Regions from separate parts of the Homo sapiens genome. Here region 2 is linked to region 1. Evidence: promoter capture Hi-C in 16 types of primary human blood cells and fetal thymus (Javierre and others, 2016). All regions are on one chromosome and are shown on one strand. The core of a region is centred on a gene start or on the middle of the fragment in contact, and the rest is flanking DNA. Distances in the headings are between cores, read along the strand shown.

Region 1 (6,872 bases), core at 3,459-5,958:
AAACTTTGTATATACTGATCAACCTAACTCCTAATTTCTAGTAGTATAAGACTTAAGACATACAACCAGATATATGTAGAGAGAGTGAACAAGAGGGAAGTAACAAAATAATTACATGATAAAGGGTGGGTGCTATGGCTCACACTTGTCATCCCAGCACTTTCAGAGGCTGAGAGACAGGGGGATCACTTGAGGCCAGGAATTCAAGATCAGCCCGGGGAACATAGTGAGACCCCATCTCTATAAATTTTTTAAATTGTCTGGGTGTGGTGGTGGTATGCACCTGTAGTCCTAGCTACTTGGGGAGCTGAGGCTGAGGTGGGAGGATTGTTTGAGTCTAGGAGTTTGAGGTGGCAGTGAGCTATGATAGTGTCACTGTCACTCTAGCCTGGAGTACAGAATGAGACCCTGTCTCAAAAAAAAAAAAAAAAAAAGGTTAAATTACAAGCTACTACTATGTACAGCAACATGGATATAATGTTATCTATATGTATCTATATACTTAGAAATAATGTTGAGCAAAGGAGGTCAGACACAAGAGTACATACTATATGATTCCACCTATATGAAGTTCAAAACCAAACCAAACTATTCTATTATAGAGGTCAAACTAATGGTTAACTTTGAGGTATAATGATTGGGAAGAGATATGAGGGAGCCTTCTGGGATGTTGGAAAGTTTCTATGTCTGTAATGGCGGTTGCATGGGTTTTTTTTTTATTATTTTATTATTATTATTATTATTATTTTTTTTTTTTGAGACGGAGTCTCACTCTGCCGCCCAAGCTGGGGAGCAGCGGCACCATCTTGGCTCACTGCAAGCTCCACCTCCCAGGTTCACGCCATTCTCCTCCCTCAGCCTCCCGAGTAGCTGGGACTACAGGTGCCCTCCACCACGCCCAGCTAATTTTTTGTATTTTTAGTAGAGACAGGGTTTCACCATGTTAGCCAGGATGGTCTCAATCTCCTGACCTCGTGATCCGCCCATGTCAGCCTCCCAAAGTGCTGGGATTACAGGCGTGAGCCACCACACCCAGCTGGGTTTATTTTTTTAAAAAGCCAGCACGCTATAATTTTAAAATTTGTGCTTCCTCTCTCTCTCTTTGTGTGTGTGTGTGTCTGTGTGTGTGTGATTTCATGTGTTCATTTCTTTTACTCACTTTTTCTATCGGGTTTTTGGGTCTTTCCCTCGATTTTAAGAGTTTTTTGTTTTTGTTTTTTTGAGGCATGGTCTCACTCCAACGCTCAGGTTGGAGTGCATTGGCACAATCACGGCTCACTACAGCCTCAATATCCTTGGGCTCAGGTGATCCTCCCATCTCAGCCTCCCAAGTAGCTAGGACTACAGGTGCACCACCACACCCAGCTAATTTTTTGTATTTTTAGTAGATACGGGGTTTCACCATATTGCCCAGGCTGGTCTCAAACTCCTGGGCTCAAGTGTTCCACCCGTCTCAGCCTCCGAAAGTGCTGGGATTACAGGGGTGAGCTATACACCCTCAAAATAAATGGCATATCTGCATTTTTAAATCACATTTTTCTACCTACAAAACCAATTTTCTTTCAGTTCTGGTTTTTGTTTCTGAAGCCCATATTTTATTACACTGAATGAAACCTGTGCATGGGTAATTCATTTAAATAAATATAATTTCTACTGGATTGGTGGATTTAAAAGACTAATGATGGCCAGGTGCAATGGCTCACGCCTGTAATCCCAGCACTTTGGGAGGCCAAGGCAGACGGATCACAAGGTCAGGAGATGGAGACCATCCTGGCCAACATGGTGAAACCCCGTCTCTACTAAAAACCAAAAATTAGCCATGCGTGGTGACATGCGCCTTGTAGTCCCAGCTACTTGGGAGGCTGAGGTGGGGGAATTGCTGGAACCTTGGAGGCGGGGGTTGCAGTAAGCCGAGATCATGCCACTGCACTCTAGCCTGGCAACAAGAGTGAGACTCTGTCTCAAATAATAATAATAATAAAATAAAATAATAATAAAAGACTAATGATACCATATAGTAGCGAATAGACATTCTCATAGTATGTTGAATATTGGTGCAAACTTAATCAGGGCAATTGATATAGATGTGTAAACAGGTTTTAACTATGAAAACCTCATTCTCAGCAAAATATCTAAGACTATCCAAAATATACAATTCACATGTGCACAGAAAAGGCATATGCAGTAAAACATTGCATATAATGGGAAAAAGCTGGAAAGAACTTACATATACAAACAGAACAGTGCAGCCATTAAAAGATTATGACACAGTTCATAATTTAGTGACATGAAAATTTGTTCACTATATTTTGTTAGAAGAAACAAGTAGATTTCAAAACAATTGTTATATAACCCTGTTTTGAATGAAAAAGTCCTATAAGCCTATATCCATGCACTTATTCACAAATGAGGTGAAGTGATTTGGAATAAAGTGTTCAAAGTGCTTTACTTTAAGCTTTTTTTAATATTCTCCAATCTTCTGAATTAAGAATCTACTAATTTTACAATGAGAGAAATCTGCTTTGAGAGCAGAAAAAATAATAATAAAAGGAGATATGTGTATGATACATGGAATGCAATGTTGAAATGGTCTGAATTCTGGCTGAAGAGACCCAAACTTTCTTCATAGACATTCCAGAGCACTAATTCAAATACTGCCTTAAAGGTCCTAAATCTAGAATCCTAAGATTTTATACACAACGAGTTCCTCTTATCAGTTGCCTCTCATTTACCTGGGCACAGAACTGCTGTTAACCAACCTCTTCACGAACTATTGCTCCAAGAAGGAAATCACATCTGGTTTGGACATAAATTAATAGGGTAATTAATAATAAACCCTTCACATAGGCAAAGAAATGGAATTTTGGTCTGATGTGGCTATGGAGAATTGAGACCATTCCTTAATCATCAAGCAGAAAGAAGTCAAGAAAGTATTCTGAAGGATTAGGATGATAACACTTTAGAAATAACACAGGAGAGACGCCCATTTCCAACTCTAGGAATCTTAAACCAGTCCTTCAGAAAGTTACCTAAGAACCCTGAAGTTTCCCTAATCAATCAGGGTGAAGAAAGTAAGATGTTCCCAGAATACAGAATTTGAACTGGAAAGGGGAAAACAGATGTAAAAAGGGAGACCCGGCTGGCCGAGGTGGCTCATGCCTGTAATCCCAACACTTTGGGAGACTGAGGCAGGCAGATCACGTGAGGTCAGGAGTTTGAGACCAGCCTGGCCAACTTGGCGAAACCCCATGTCTACTAAAAATACAAAAATTATCCGGACATGGTGGTGGGCACCTGTAGTCTCAGCTACTCGGAAGGCTGAGGCAGGAGAATCCCTTGAACCTGGGAGGCGGAGGTTGCAGTAAGTCGAGATCACGCCACTGCACTCCAGCCTGGGCGACAGAGCAAGACTCGGTCTCAAAACAAAAAAAGGGGAGACCAAATTGGCTAGTTAAATAAATGTATGTAGGTGTTATATCACACCCCTGAATAATTCCTCCGAATCGGGGTGGGGGTGTCAGTCATCTGTACTCCACCCAGAAGTCAATGCCACATTCCTGAGTCTACATACCCGTGAAATGATAGGAACCCATGTGCCCATAAGGTCCTGGAGGGGAATGCAAAGTTGGTCAAGACATGGGAGCTAGACAGCAAGGAAAAGGAATTGCAAAGGGAAGTTAGTAGTTAAATAAGTTACCACATATCCATGTAATATAATACTAAGATAGACAAATGCAAAGTTGTAGAAAATAGTTAAGGAATATTTTCAAGATACTGTATCAGAGAAATCACTTTACAAAACAGGTTGAACAATACAATTATATCAATATGGTCATTTAAAAAGTCTAGAAAGTTAAACACCTGTTTCAGTTATTTATTGCTATATAACCACCTCAAAAGTTTATGGCTTAAAACAAAAAACAATTAGCTTATTATTTGGGGGGCTTGGCAATTTGGGCTTGGCTTGCCTGAGTGGTTCTTCTGCTGATCATATTCATGTGACAGCTGTCAGCTGTTGGCCTGGTGGAGGCTGGATGGTTCAAGATGGTCTCCCTGAAATTTCTGGCCGTTGTTGCTCACTGGACCTCTCTCTCCAAGTGATCTTTAATGCGCAAGCAAGTTGCTCTTAGCCTTCAGTCATGGTGGTCTCAGGGCAGGAAAAGGGGAAGAGAAAAAGCTGCAAGACTTCCTGAAGCTTTGTCTCAGAAGTCTCACAATATCACTTCCACCACATTCTATTGGTCAAAGCACCTCACAAGGCCCTGCCTAATAGTAACCTAACCACTGACTAGCATTTCAGGAGGAGAAAAAATACTCCCTTGCTGAAAAACAAAATCAAAGAGAACAAAAATAGAAAATACAACAAAACTTCCTTGACCTTGGTTTTCAGATATGCTCAGCAATGGTTCCCTTTCCTCAGGGCTCTTAGAGAACCTCAAGGCAAGGGAGAAGGGGTAAGGAATCATGAGACATCAGACCTTTCTTGGAACCCAGATTGGCTAAATTGGAAAAAATTATTGCCACCACACGAGCTCTCATCATCTACCATAAACATACTCAGATGGAAGTAAAAGGGAGATGGGAGTACTGCTAACCCTTCTTAGTATTCAAGGGAAAGGCCAGGGTCACTGATATCCAGGACTGGGGACTTTCTCAAAATTCACGTTAAGTCTCCTGCGGAGACAGCTCTGGGAATGATGTGGATCACATGGAACCTGACCTCTGAGAGTTCCCAAGGGAGAGCCTCTGAGGAAGGAATCCTACTCCTAGGTTCTCCCCACGACGTCTTCCCAGAACTCTGCTTAAGGGACACTTACAACTCGAAAAGCCTCGTTCCGAAAACAGGTCTGTCCTTTTTCTGTTTGCAGATTTTATTCCACCACTCGATTATCCCTTCCCTTTTTGATGGCCATTTCACTGCAGCTGGGGTCTATACAGCTATAAAGCGGGAGAAAAAAGGAAGCTGGGAACTCAGAGATGCAGAGCCCAAGAAACAATCGAGTCTAAAACTGCCGCTTAGGTGGGCACTCCGCCAGGATCCCCTGTGTCAAACACCAGGCTGAGAACTGGGGACAGGTGTGCCCTGAGAAGACAACGCGGGCCATGCTTCATTGCAAGATGACTCTGCTTAACATAGGCATGGATCATAGTCCTCACAGGCACATTGGGGAGATCTTCGACAGACCCCTCAGTCCCAACATTAAACACAGCACTGCAGAAATGAAGCTTTACCCGTTACACACACAACACCACAGACCTAAAAGGCTCTTCCATCACACGGCCACAGCAGCACTGTCATGATGGAAGGTCTCAAACCCTACAGTGTCACACACCCGACAGCCGACCACGGCCACCCAAAGGTCCCGCATCCGAGCAGGGACAGGAACACAATCACGCACCTGTCGCAGCCTCCTCGCCGCGCACACCGCCGCCTTGTCCTGGCATCAAACACACACGCACAGGTGCATACACAGGCCCGAGCTACGGCCCTGCACACCCTGTCTGCGTCCCGGGAGCTCGGGGCTTCCTCACCGTGAGCGCCGCCCTCATCCCAGCCACGCACTATGAGAATTTGGAAGGGGAACCAGAGATCAAAGTTCGAAAACCGCCCGGGCGCCTGTGGGAAATGTAGTCCAAGGCCGGAAACGCCCGGATGTGGAGAAGGCGCGCGTAGCCGGTGGACAGCAGGAACGCGCCGCGGAGACACCTGGGAGGCATCGTCCGCGTGGGAGTGCGCATGCGCAGACGCCCGGCCGGCAACCGAAGGTGAGGCTGGTGGGTCCCGCGGGCGCGGAGAAGGCGGGTGACGGTGTGACCCGTAAGGAAGGCTGAGGAGGGAGGCGGGAGCCTGGGCTGGGGAAAGCAAGAAGGGAAGAGGAGCAACCTGGGACGAGGAGTTGGCTGGAGGAAAGTGCGAGTCCGGGCCTCAGAGAAGGCTGGGAGGGAAGCAGGAACCAGAGCGCGGGCCCGGGAGCACCTGAAGAAGGGAACCGGTTGCCCGAGGCGGGGGGTGAGCTCCCCAGTGGCAGGAATTTCGTCTGATTTTCGTCCCCTGGCTCCTGGAGCACGGCCTGGCACACAACAGGCGCTCCGTGTGTGTGTGTGTGGCTTTTCGTACCTGTCCTGTGTGTTGTGGTAGGGGAATGTGTTATTCTGTGTGACGTTGTGGAACCGGTTGTTTATGAAAGTGATAGGGTCCCTGCGTGTCTTAAGTTTTAATTTAAATTAGATGCGAGTCGATTTGTGTTTGAGCCTGTGTCCGACTCTGGAGAGGCGACAGTGAGGGCATTGTGAGTGAAAGGTTGTTACTTTTTGTAGAAGTTCTGTGAAATTGTGCACGACGTGGGGGCCTATGGGATTATGACTATGTAGTGGGTGATACAGCTATGAATATGCCTAATTTTAAAAGTATTTGGTGTACACGACCTATGATGACTGTGAATGTGGCACACTGTGTGACTTAGGTGGAGTGCTTGAGAAACCGAGTGTTGACTAAAGTATGCATTGTTTAGATTGATTTATGAGTATTGGGCATTTTATATATGCCTGTAGAATTTGACTCTGGTAATTAGACAAGTAAAATAAGTAGTGATTTTTTTTTTTTAATGGAGAGGAAGAGGCAAAATAATTTTCAGAGGGTAAGATTGGGCCCATGCGGGCCGGGCGCGGTGGCTCACGCCTGTAATCCCAGCACTTTGGAAGGCTGAGGCGGGCCGATCACGACGTCAGGAGATCGAGAACATCCTGGTTAACATGGTGAAACCCCGTCTCTACTAAAAATACAAAAAATTAACCGGGCGTGGTGGCGGGCGCCTGTAGTCCCAGCTACTTGGGAGGCTGAGTCAGGAGAATGGCGTGAACCCGGGAGGCGG
Region 2 (6,132 bases), core at 30-2,529, about 21 Mb after region 1:
CTCGGTTACAACACTATAGCCAAAGATTACATTCATAAAGATATTTTTACAATATAGGTGTCTTATTTAATATGACTCCAATCTAAATGGTAATTTTTCTAACCTTTCTTAAGTAATTATAAAATGTCAAAATTATAAACAATTAAAAACTAAAGAGAAATGAAGACAATGGATAGCAACAAAAGCTAATTGCTAAATATGGGGGAAAAAAGCCAGGCATGGTGGCTCATGCTTGTAATCCCAGCACTTTAAGGCAGGCGAATCACTTGAGGCCGGTTCTAGACCAGCCTGGCCAACATGGTGAAACCCTGTCTCTACTAAAAATACAAAAATTATCCGGGGGTGGTGGCGCATGCCTGTAGTCCCGGCTACTCGGGAGGCTGAGGCAGGAGAATCGCTTGAACCTGGGAGGTGGAGGTTACAGTGAGCAGAGATTGCACCACTGTACTCCAGTCTGGGCGACAGAGTGAGACTCTGTCAAAAAAAAAAAAGGAAAAAAAGAAAAGAAAAAGAAGATATAATGTTTCTGCAATCTCATTTCAGTTCCACTTATGATAATAGATACATTATGTAATTTAAGTCACTAACACTTGAGGGCAAAAAAACAGAATAAACACAAACGTGTGGGATAAGGGGATGCTGACCCCACTGTTAGTGATCACCTTGGTTGGAGACCCAGGTTTTATCATACAGATGAAGCCTGCAGGTAGCAAGTTTCAGAGAAATAGATTGTAAATGTTTCTTATCAGACTTAAGGTCTATGCTGATGTTATTGCTGTAGGGGTAGAATGAGGCATGTCCAACCCCTTCTTCCATAATGGCCTGAACTAGATTTTCAGGTTAACTCTATAATGCTGAGAGGAGGGGGTCCATTCAGATAGTTGGGAGGCCTTTGAATTTTATTTTTGGTTATAGTTTCTACATTAAAAAAAAGAAAAAAATTAAGGGTCGCGTCAATTCTCAATTGTCAACATTTTTAATGTATTGTATGCAATATATGTCAACTTTTGTGTTGAGAAATGAAGATCAAATCGTATTCTTTTATCCTGTGTATGTAATAGGCTTTGCTGACCCTAGTTTGATGGGTTTTTTCCTTTGTCCTCTCTTTCTTGGATTGAGTCCTCACAGCGCGGCGGACTGCGGCGTGGTAGGAACTACACCACCCAGAATACTGTGCGCCGAGCGTGCCGGGGCCTTAGACCAATCATTGCCCAGGAAAGGGGCACCTCCGTAAGTGCGCAATACGCCAGAATCTTCCGGCGTCTTTCCGGTGGTGGTCGTTTTTGCTGCCTGCGAGCGCGTCCGCGGGCTGGGCGTTTCCGGCTCGCTGGGTCCGGGCCAGGTAACTGGAGCCGGAAACCGGTGGAGGTGGTGTCCGCCCGCAGAGGAGCTTGCCTGGTCTCGGTCTGAGCGTCGCCCAGCGATTTGCCACCGCACGCACGCCGGATCCCGGGCTTTACCGCCCGCCTTTCCAGGCCCCGCCCCGCCTAAAGTCCCATGGCCGAGGCAGCGCTAGTGATTACGCCGCAGGTGAGAGCGGAGTCCTCGGATCCTCACCTGGGTCCTGAGGCCCCGGACTGGGGTCACCTGCGTGGGTCTCTGCAGTTCAGGCCTCTTCTCCAGGACAGCGAGGAGTTCTGGGTGGGGTCCTCAGAGCTGACGGGCGGTGAGGTGAAGAAGGGAGAGCGTTGCGTACCGTGGGGGCTGCACGCGCAGAGCCTGGGAGGTGCGCCGGGGTCGCGAGCATTCGGAAACTTGGGGGCGGACCTGTGTCTGCAGGGAGCAGAGAGAATGAGGAGAAGAAGGCACGGCTGCCATGGCAGCCTGAGCAACCGGGGTTTTTAATTCTGAGTCTTTGGGAGCCATGGAGGGTTGTGAACTAAAGGAGAACACGATCTGAGTGAGGGTCTGAAAAAATATTTCAAAGGCAATGAGTGGAGAAAACAGACTGTTACGGAGTGATGGGGGTGGACGCAGGGATACTGGTGAGGAGACTGCTGTAGTAGGCTCCAGGAGGATTATGGTGGATTCTGGACCAGACGGGTTGCTGAAGGGACCTAAGTAATAAGAATCTTGGTAGATCTTAAAGGTAAAGCCAGCAGGATTTTCTGCTCCATCATTTGTGCCTATGAGCAAAAGTGGGAGTGAAGTATGATCCCAAGTTTTTCTTTTACCTGAACATCTGGAAGAGTTGACAAAGAAATCTGGTGAGGGAGCAGGTTTCAGGGAAATAGTAGGAGTTGAATTTTGGACGTGGTGTTTCTAAATTGCCACAGAGTGAAGTTGTTACATGGGCAGTTGGAATCATAAGTAGAAAATTCATGGGAGGGGACTGACTCAGTGATGTGTAAATGGAGACAGGCTGGGGCGTAGACTCAAGCCAAGCCTTAAATTTAGACGGGAAATCTTAAGGTTTTACTTTGAGATGAAGAGAGGGAGGGCTGAGGCTGGAGGCTGGGAAAGTGTGGGTCGGCCTTGGCGAAGCTGCCTGCAGATAGGAGGGCCATGGGGTTCCGGGGGTACTTCCAAAGGGAATGTGTAAGGAATACACACTGCATAGGATGGATTTGAGGGTGGGACACTGTGTAGAGTCACCATTCAGAAGACTTGGCGAACTGTTCACTCTATGTGGAGCCAGAGAAAGGTCAGCCAGACTAGCAGAGAAGCCCAAGCCCAGCAAGAGCAGCTCTCCCAGGAAAATACAAGTTTAGACTGTATAGATTTAACAAATTAAATTTATGCAAGCAATTAGTTAACCGAATAAAATGTCACTATAACTCTGTGCTCTAATAAAAAATAAATGTTTGTTTTTTGTCATGCTTTCCTGGCACAGAATTCCTAAAATCGTTGTAATTTCCTCAGTGAAAAGTGTCTTGTGATAAGTCATGGACCGCATAACAACAGTGTTGACCACATCAGTGACGGTGGTCCCATAAGATTATGATACCATATTTTTACTGTACCTTTTCATTTTCTTTCTTTCTGATCAGGAGGCAAACTGCATTTTCTAAGTTTATAAATGTTTAAATGCACAAATAATTATCACTGTGTTACAGTTGCTGACAGTATTTAGTATAGTAACTTGCTGTACAGGTTTGTAGCCTAGGAGCAATAGGCTATACCATTTAGTAGTTGAACAATGAATGTCTGAACAGTAGTTCCCCCTTATCCTCAGAGGATACCTTTCAAGAACCCCAGCGGAGGCTTGAAACTGCAGATAGTACCCAACCTATATATACTATGTTTCTTCCTAGACTACATACCTGTAATAAAATCCAGTTTATAAATGAGGCAGTATAGGAGATGAACAATAATAACTGGAAATAATATAGAACAGTTATACTTTATAAGTTAATAAAAGTTAAGTAACTGCAGTTGAGACAATAAAAAAGCAAAAGTTAAATTATAAAAAACATGTGAATGTGGTATCTCTCTAAATATCTTACTGTACTATTCACCCTTGTGATGAAGAAGGGACTAAACTCGATAGAGTGAGATTTCCTCACACTACTTACAATGGTGCACTGTTGGCCAGCGCAGTGGCTCACACCTGTAATCCCAGCACTTTGGGAGGCTGAGGCAGGCAGATCACAAGGTCAGGAGATCGAGACCATCCTGGCTAACATGGTGAAACCCCGTCTCTACTAAAAATACAAAAAATTAGCCAGGTGTGGTAGTGGGCGCCCGTAGTCCCAGCTACTCCGGAGGCTGAGGCAGGAGAATGGTGTGAAGCTGGGAGGCAGAGCTTGCAGTGAGCCGAGATTGCACCACTACACTCCAGCCTGGGCGACAGAGCGAGGCTCCGTCTCCAAAAATAAATAAATAAAATAAATAAATAAATAAATAAATAAAGGATGGTGCACTATTTAAAACATGAATTGTTTATTTCTGGAATTTTAATATTACTATTTTCAGACTGAAGTTGAAATTTAATACTTATAATTTTCACACTGAAGTTGAGTGTGGGTAACTGAAACTGCAAATAGCAAAACAGCTGATAAGGGAAGACTTCTATACTTGAGTTTTATGAGATGGCTTAGGGTGAGCAGACAAGGTGGAGTCTCTAGATAGCCTCAGAGTGGAGTCAGTCACCAGAAAAATCAAGTGATTATAGAATTTGAACTTTGAGCCCCACCTCTGGCATCCAGGGAGGGGAGCAGAGATCTGGAGATTAGGTTATATAAAATCTTGAACAATGAGTTCTAGAAGCTTCAAGGTTGTGAACACTTGGAAGTGCTGGGAGAGTGACGTAAGAGAGCGTGGAAGTACTCTGCCTTACCCCCTCTCCCAGTACCTTGCCATATGCATCGCTTCCATTTGGCTGTTCCTGAGTTACATCCATTATCATAAACTGGTAAACATAAGTAAAATATTTTCCTGAGTTCTGTAAGTGGTTCTAGCAAATTATTGAACGTAAGGAGAGAGGTCATGGCAGCCCCCAAATGTGTAGCCAAGTGGAGAAAATTACAGTGGTCTGGACATTGGCTTGCAATTGCCATATGAAGTGAGGGCAGTTTTGTACGACTGAGCCCTTAAACCTGTTGGTTTAGCTGCAACTCCAGGTAGTTAGTGTTAGAATAGGATTGAATTGTAGGACACCTAGTTGGTATCAGAATCAGAGAATGGTGTGGGAAAAGACACTACATATTTATTATCAAAGAAGCACAGAAGCCTCTCATAATTTGAAAAGATACCACATTCACATAAAGACTTAAATGGCAAGTAAGAAACACCAGAGTTTTAAAAAATGTTTACAGAAATCTTAATGCAATAGTCAGTACTAGCTAAATCTTAGCATTGGACACGTATGAATGAGTTTGATGCCTACGATGGCACTACGAGATAGCCACCATTAAGTGTTTCCATTTTACAGATGAAGGCAACCTCAGAGAGGTTAGGTCTTTGTCTAGTGTCACACAGTTGGCAAGAGCAACTTACCCTTTGTAAATGCCACCTTGAACACCTGTATTTCATAGCCTCCCTCTTCCTACAGATTCCCATGGTAACAGAAGAGTTTGTGAAACCATCACAGGTAAGTGGAAGAAGTCCCAGGTCTTCACTGGCCCTGTTCCCTAAAGCCATGGGTCTGGCCCACAGATGCAGGTAACAATAATGTCCTGGGACTCTTTTTCCTTCATCTTGGGTCCCTGGGGCCACCTCAGGCCCAGGATGATTAATCAGGGTCAGGAGTTATACAGAGATGTTCCCATTTCTGCATCCAATAGGATGAAGTGATGAAAGGTTTCCTGGGCATAGGCGCCAGCATGTCCAAATGCTTAGAGATGAGAATGATATGGGCATATATAGGGAACTGCAAGTCTGTGCACTGTGGCCAAAACTTTTGCAGTTTGAGCTGTGACAGAACTAACATGAGTTTCTTTTTCCTTCTTTACAATCTCACAGATACATGATTTGTCCTTTTCGTAGATCTTAGCAAACTCAGAGTACAATATTTTTTTTCTTGTTAAGAACTCTCACCTTTTCACTTAAAGGAAGTACTTCACAGGTTGTCTTTTACATATCTGAATGGCTGGTATTATCGCTCTTGTGCTTTGGGGGTATTAAGTAAAATAAGCGTTACTTGAACACAAGCACTGTGATAATGAGACAGTTGATATGATAACCAAGATGGCCACATAGTGATTAACAGGCAGGTAGTGTATTCATCATGGATCTATTGGACAAACGGATGATTCACGTCTTGGGCAGAACAGCGTGGGACAGTGTAAGATTTTATCACACTACTCAGAGAAGCACGTCATTTATAATTTTTGGGTTGTTTATTTCTGGAATTATCCATGTAATATTTTCAGACCACAGTTAACCAGTAGTAAGTGAAACCATGGAAAACAAAATTGTGGCTAAGATCGGGGACGACTGTATATGTATTCAGTGCTATACATTTTATTCTAAGCACCGCTTCGACTGCATCTCACAAATTCTAAGTTGTGTTTTCATTTCATTTAGTTCAAAATATTTTTAAATTTATCTTGAGTATTTCTTCTTTGTTCCATGCGTTGTCTTGTTTACATCTCCCAGGTATTTTGGGATTTGCCAGCTCTCTTTCCATTACTGCTTTCTAGTTGAATTCCATTGTGATTGCAGAGCAGACCTTGTATTATTTCTAGTAAA

The links. The method cuts DNA at HindIII sites, captures the fragments that hold promoters and counts their contacts. A CHiCAGO score of 5 or more calls a contact.
Region 2: a contact is called between the fragment with the promoter of ZNF549 here and a fragment that was not itself captured in region 1, in 1 of 17 cell types (activated CD4 T cells). The highest score is 5.3, in activated CD4 T cells.

Annotation. Positions count from the first base shown.
Region 1 is chr19:36,681,869-36,688,740 of GRCh38, forward strand. ZNF567 (zinc finger protein 567) reads left to right here and starts at 5,744. Exons shown (of 6, transcript NM_001322917.1): 1 at 5,744-5,766. It overlaps ZNF567-DT (ZNF567 divergent transcript), which reads right to left and starts at 5,581. Exons shown (of 4, transcript NR_110708.1): 1 at 5,400-5,581; 2 at 4,818-4,938; 3 at 3,969-4,147; 4 at 3,571-3,643. RefSeq lists enhancers at 5,551-5,600, 6,161-6,800 and a silencer at 5,801-5,860. The HindIII fragment of the contact is 1,031 bases long and covers 4,194-5,224 here.
Region 2 is chr19:57,526,077-57,532,208 of GRCh38, forward strand. It overlaps ZNF549 (zinc finger protein 549), which reads left to right and starts at 1,280. Exons shown (of 4, transcript NM_001199295.2): 1 at 1,280-1,530; 2 at 4,994-5,032. The coding sequence starts at 1,498. The HindIII fragment of the contact is 12,430 bases long and covers 1-4,207 here.